Linked DNA regions of Homo sapiens: region 1 is linked to region 2. Evidence: promoter capture Hi-C in human tissues and cell types (Jung and others, 2019). All regions are on one chromosome and are shown on one strand. The core of a region is centred on a gene start or on the middle of the fragment in contact, and the rest is flanking DNA. Distances in the headings are between cores, read along the strand shown. Region 1 overlaps NUDC (nuclear distribution C, dynein complex regulator). Region 2 holds the start of GPATCH3 (G-patch domain containing 3).

Region 1 (3,071 bases), core at 392-2,891, 43 kb after region 2:
GCCAACTGCTGTGCTCTTTGCCCCAGAAAAAGGATGCAGAGAATCATGAGGCCCAGCTCAAGAACGGCAGCCTTGACTCCCCAGGGAAGCAGGTGAGATGGACTGCAGGGACTTGGGATGAGCCAGGAGCTTGGAACTTACAGGAAATCTCCTGCCTACTGCTTTCTCTGGAATACCCTTCCTTATCCTATCCCCTCCCCTCCTGGCTTTGGGAATCTTCCCCATACTTTAAGATCACACTCAGAGACATTGAACCAAAGGATCCAGGTTAAAAAAATAAAAACCTGCCAGGCGCAGTGGCTCACACCTGTAATCCCAGCACTTTGGGAGGCCGAGGTGGGTAAATCACGAGGTCTGGAGTTCAAGACCAACTTGGCCAAGATGGTGAAACCCCATCTCTACTAAAAATACAAAAATTAGCCAGGCATGGTGGTGGGCGCCCGTAATCCCAGCTACTCGGGAGGCTGAGGCAGAGAATTGCTTGAACCCGGGAGGCGGAGGTTGCCATGAGCCGAGATCACGCCACTGCACTCCAGCCTGGGCGACAGAGCAAGACTCCGTCCCAAAAAAATAAAATAAAAACCGACTGACCTTAACCTGTTTATGGCAAGAAAACCCAATAGCCAGAGAGGGCAGTGCCTATTACAGGTCCCATCTGAGGTTGGCTGGGTTCTGTGGGCCCAGCCATATCCTTTGTCACATGGTATAATATTAATAGTCTGAGCTCCTCTCAGACTGAGATCAGAACCAAGTTTTACCTGGTTCCCAGTGGACCAAGGCTTGGGGGTCTGCCCCTCTGTGGAGTGGGCAGGGACCAGGTCTGTTTTCTTTTGTGGCTGTATGCCCAGTGCTAGCCCTGGGCTTGGCCCAGTGAGGGTTCAATCTGTGTCTTGTCTGTCAAGTAAGTAGCTGAGTGTCCCTGATTGTAAGCAGGATACTGAGGAAGATGAGGAGGAAGATGAGAAGGACAAAGGAAAACTGAAGCCCAACCTAGGCAACGGGGCAGACCTGCCCAATTACCGCTGGACCCAGACCCTGTCGGAGCTGGACGTGAGTGTCAGGGACCAGAGGTAAAGCTTAGGGGGCCAGCCTGGGGTACCAGCAGCACTTAGTGGCCTCTTCTGACTGCCTCTGCCCTATGCAGCTGGCGGTCCCTTTCTGTGTGAACTTCCGGCTGAAAGGGAAGGACATGGTGGTGGACATCCAGCGGCGGCACCTCCGGGTGGGGCTCAAGGGGCAGCCAGCGATCATTGATGGGGAGCTCTACAATGAAGTGAAGGTGGAGGAGAGCTCGTGGCTCATTGAGGACGGCAAGGTGGTGACTGTGCATCTGGAGAAGGTATGTGAGGCCCAGCCCTTCTAGCCTGGGGTGTTGATGGAAGTAGAAGGGAGGATGTGTGCTTAGTTTACTCAGGAGCCATGCTGGGGGCATTGTGGGATTATCTTAATCCCCATGACAACACTCTTTAAAGTAGATCTGTCTCTATTTTATTTTCTTAAAGACAAGGTCTCACTCTGTTGCCCAGGCTGAAGTGCAGTAACACCTTCTTAGCTCACTGCAGCCTTGAACCCTTGGGCCCAAGCAATTCTCTCGCCTCGTCCTCCTGAGTAGCTAAGACTACAGGTGTACACCACCACGCTCGGCTAATTTTTGTTATTAAATTTTTTTGTAGAGACCGGGGGGTCTCACTATATTTCCCAGGCTGGTCTTGAACTCCTGGCCTCAAGTGATCTTCACACCTTGGCCTCCCAAAGTGCTGAGATTACAGGCTTGAGTCAGGAAAAGAGCTCGTTGATTTACCCAAGCTCCTACCTCTGGGAAGGGGTGGAGTCAGAATTGAAAGTCTTAGTTTCTAAAGCCACTTCTTTTTCACTAGGTTTGTACATGCATTCAATTCATCAAATACTTGAACACCTGCTCTGTGCCTGGTACTGTTCTTGTTCTAAGTGCTGGAAAGAGAACAGTGAACAAAACATAGGAAAATATGTGCCCTCAGGAAGCCTTCATTCTCAACCTCACTGCCTTTACAGAGAGGTAGGACACAGAGATCAGTAAATAAAGGTGGTCTGAAAAGGGCCAAGGGTCTGAGGAGAACTTCCCAGGGCACATAAGACCCTGTAACAGCCTGTCCGACTGGCACTGGCTGCCTTCACTCACTCACCCCTCCATGCCTCTGCACTTGCTTTGTCGCCCAGGCTGGAGTGCAGTGGCGCGATCTCGGCTCACTGCGAGCTCCGCCTCCTGGGTTCATGCCATTCTCCTGCTTCAGCCTCCAGTGTAGCTGGGACTACAGGCGCCCGCCACCATGCCTGTATTTTTTTTTTTGTCTGTTTTGTTTTCTATTTTTTAGTAGAGACAGGGTTTCACCGTGTTAGCCAGGATGGTCTCGATCTCCTGACCTTGTGATCCGCCCACCTCGGCCTCCCAAAGTGCTGGGATTACAGGTGTGAGCCACCATGCCCAGCCCTTTCCCTGCCTTTTAAATTTATTTTTTATTTTTTGAGACAGGGTCTTGTTCTCACCCAGGCTGGAATGCAGTGGCGCAATCACGGCTTACTGCAGCCTTGACCTCCCGGGCTCAAACGACCCTCCCACCTCAGCTTCCTGAGTAACTGCGAGCGCCACCCTACCTGGCTAATTTTTAAATGTTTTTTGTAAAGACAGGGTCTCATGTTGCCCAGGCTGGTCTGAAACTCCTGGGCTCAAGGGATCTTCCTGCCTTGGCTTCCCAAAGTGTTGGGATTACAGGTAGGAGCCACTGCACCTGGCACTTCCCTGCTTAAAAACTTTTTCTGGCTGGGCGTGGTAGCTCATGCCTGTAATCCTAGCGCTTTGGGAGGCTGAGGTGGGCAGATCACGAGGTCAGGAGTTTGAGACCAGCCTGGCCAAGATGGCAAACCCCATCTCTAATAAAAATACAAAAAATTAGCTGGGCATGGTGGTGGGCGCCTGTAATCCCAGCTACTTGGGAGTCTGAGGCAGGAGAATCGCTTGAACCCAGGAGGTGGAGGTTGCAGTGAGCTGACTGCACCACTGCACATGGTGGCTCACACCTGTAATCCCAACACTT
Region 2 (3,268 bases), core at 768-3,267:
TGGGATTACAGGCATGTGCCACCATGCCTGGCTGATTTTTGTATTTCTAGTACAGACAGGGTTACGCCATGTTGTCCAGGCTGGTCCTGGCCTCAAGTGATATCTACCCACCTGATGACCTTTTGATTCTCGGCTGTCACCAACTCCCACCTCCTGCATGTCTTCATACGATGTGTTCCAGCCACACCAAACAATTTTTCTCCTAATTTCTTTTTTTTCTTCTTTTTTTTTTTTTGAGATGGGGTCTCGTTCTGTCACCCAGGCTGGAGTACAGTGGCGCGATCTTGACTCATTGCAACCTCCACCTCCTGGGCTCAAGTGATCCCCCCACCTCAACCTCACAAGTAGCTGGGACTACAGGCATGCGCCACCACAACCGGCTAATTTGTATTTTTGGTAGAGACAGGGTTTCACCATGTTGCCCAGGCTGGTATGGAACTCCTGAGCTCAAGAGATCCACCCACCTGTGCCTCCCAAAGTGCTGGGATTACAGGCACGAGCCATTGCAACCCAGCCCACAATGAACAATTTAACATGCCCTGAAAGTTTTTCACGGGCTTTCAAAGCTGTGTCTTTGCAAACGCCATTTACCCTGAAACCCAGAAACACCATTCTCTCCTATTAACTCCTATTTATTTTTCAAGACCCAGATGGAAAGCCACATTTCATGATCCATCTAGGAAGTTAGTTTCTCCCTTCTCTGTCATCTCACAGCACTTGGTGATAAACAGTATAGGCTCTGGAACAGATGCCTAGGTTTGTTGTAGCTCTGACACTAACTAACTCTGTAACCTCAGGCAAGTCACATAACTTCGGCTTCCCTCAGTTTCTTCACCTATGAAATGGGAGAAACAACAGCTCCTATCTCATAGGACTGTTGAGAGGGGTAAGAAAACAAAAGGCTTAGAACAGCGCCTACTAAATACAGAGTGCTCAGTGAATGCTAACAATTAGAATGACATCTCTGTGGCAATAACCTTTTTCCAAATGTCTTCCTTTGTGGATTCTGAGCACACACTATGTCCAACTGTTCTCTGCATACCCAGCTAGTCACACTAGGTCTAGCAATGTAAGCATTTGTTGAATGTGTGAACTGGAGGGCTCTGCACTGTCCTGTTTCCCCATCAAACTGATTTCCCATGAAAGTGGGAGCTGTCCAGAGAAAAGATTGTCTCTTCATTTGTATCTTACTGAAAGGACTGGGTAGGAAGCACAGAGAGAGCAGGAGAGAAAGACAGTAAAAGGGTTAGAGACTGGATTTCCTTTTTTCTTTCTGTGTTAGTGCAAAATCAACCCCTTGGATAGAGAAAGGGTCTCAAAAGGGACCTAACAAAATGAAGGCTCTTCCGAATAAGCCTCTCCGGTTTATTTTTCTCCATGTATTGGACTAACTCCCTGCAAGTTGAGCCTGAAGCTCTGTCTAGAATATGAACTAAACTCATAGAGTCCTAACCAGAGGCCTGACTTATCCTCACCACTCCTCTGAAAAGGTGCCTCTGTTCCAGGCCCGTAGGCCCAGTCTATTAACTTTCTCACTCTTACCTGATGCCTCCGTAGGTAGCCGAAGTCTGCGGATGAGACAGCGACCCGGTAGCCAAGTCCCGTGAGAATCCAGCCACCGGCGGCCCGAGTACATGCGAATAAGCCTCTGAGCTTGAGCCAACCCCCTTACCGAGATGACGCAGCAGCAGGTGCGGGTCTGGATTGGAGTAGAGTCTCGAGTGGAGAGAGGCCGGACATCGGTGGCCGAAGTCTGAGAGAGAAGCTGGCCCTCAGCGGCTGGGTCGGTAGGAATTAGGGCAGAGTTAGGAGCGGCCTGCGGAGGGGCCCGCTCAGGCCGATGCCGGTAGTGGAAACAGAGGAAGCCACCGCCGCGCTCTTCTCGGAACTGGCTAAAATAGCTCCGTAAATGGGCCGAGCGCAACACGGAGGGGATACCGCTCACTACCAGGTAAACTGTCGCCTCCTCCTCCGCCTCGCCGGGCACCGCCATCTTGGATTGTCACATGATCAGCTAGAACCAAGTCTCGCGAGAACACCGCGAGCAACGTTCCAGCCCCTGCGTTGCGAGATTGTGAAAATTCTAACTAGTCCTTTGGGATTGGGGTTGTGGAACCTGGAGCTGGAAGATCCGAAGTCTTCTGTGTTCCTTTCCCACAGAGGGAAGCCGGCGATGATGGAAAAACTCACCTGGAAAATGGGGTCATAGAGTTCTTTCATAAAGCTCTCATGAGGACCAAATAAGAAGCCTGCGGGAGGGGTCATTTTTGAGGTATTTAGTTGTGGATATTGCACACCTAATCTCAACCTTCCTCAGTTCTGAACCTTTAGTCGTTCTTCCATTTATTTTTCCAAAATGTGTTGATGAACTCCCACAAATCGGTAAGAAAAAGATAACCCGGTAGAAAAATGGGCCGAAGATACTTCGCAAAAGAGGAAACACGCAGGTCCAATTTACAATGAAAGTGCTATGAGTTACTAGAGGCTTACGTTAAAGAAAAGATGCACAACTCAATAATAAAAGAAATGCAGCGAGACCCACTTTGCATCCACTATGTTGGCAAACTTTAAAACCTTAGAGTCGATGACAACATGGTGGAACTGAAGCTCTCATACACTGTTGGTGGAAATGTAAGTTGATACAACCACTTTGGGAAACAATTGGCGTTATCTAGTAAAAGCAAAGCTACACATCATTTGACTCAGCACTTGTAGGTAATATTTTATTTATTTTTGAGTTGGGGTCTCGCTCTGTCGCCCAGGCTGGAGTGCTGGGACCACAGATGCAACCCACTATGCCTGGCTAATTTTTTAAACTATTTGTAGAGATGGGGTCTCACTGCATTGCCCAGGCTGGTATTGAACTCCAGGGCTCAAGTGATCCACTGGCCTCAGCCTCCCAAAGTGTTAGGATTACAGGTGTGAGCCACGGTCCCCGCCTTTTTGTCTTTTTTTTTTTTTTTTTTTTTTTTTGAGATGGAGCCTCGCTCTGTCATCCAGGCTGGAGTGCAATGGTGCGATCTCGGCTCACTGCAACCTCCGCCTCCCGGGTTCAAGCAATTCTCCTGTCTCAGCCTCCCGAGTAGCTGGGACTACAGGTGCGTGCCACCACGCCCGGCTAATTTTTGTATTTTTAGTAGAGACGGGGTTTCACCATATTGGTCAGGCTGGTCTCGAACTCCTGACCTCAGGTGATCCACCCGCCTTGGCCTCCCAAAGTGCTGAGATTACAGATGTAAGCCACCGCACCCGGCCCTCTTTGTACGTT

The links. Contacts are between HindIII fragments. The study calls those that stand out against the background at their distance.
Region 1: a contact is called between a fragment that was not itself captured here and the fragment with the promoter of GPATCH3 in region 2, in 1 of the 25 tissues and cell types used here (thymus).

Annotation. Positions count from the first base shown.
Region 1 is chr1:26,941,727-26,944,797 of GRCh38, forward strand. NUDC (nuclear distribution C, dynein complex regulator) reads left to right here. Exons shown (of 9, transcript NM_006600.4): 4 at 27-92; 5 at 934-1,050; 6 at 1,145-1,339. Among named protein-coding and RNA genes, the nearest start is that of KDF1, 17 kb to the right of the region's middle. The HindIII fragment of the contact is 5,756 bases long and covers 1-3,071 here.
Region 2 is chr1:26,898,450-26,901,717 of GRCh38, forward strand. GPATCH3 (G-patch domain containing 3) reads right to left here and starts at 2,018. Exons shown (of 7, transcript NM_022078.3): 1 at 1,543-2,018. The coding sequence starts at 1,993. It also overlaps a transcript of NUDC not described here. RefSeq lists an enhancer at 1,963-2,082. The HindIII fragment of the contact is 3,671 bases long and covers 626-3,268 here.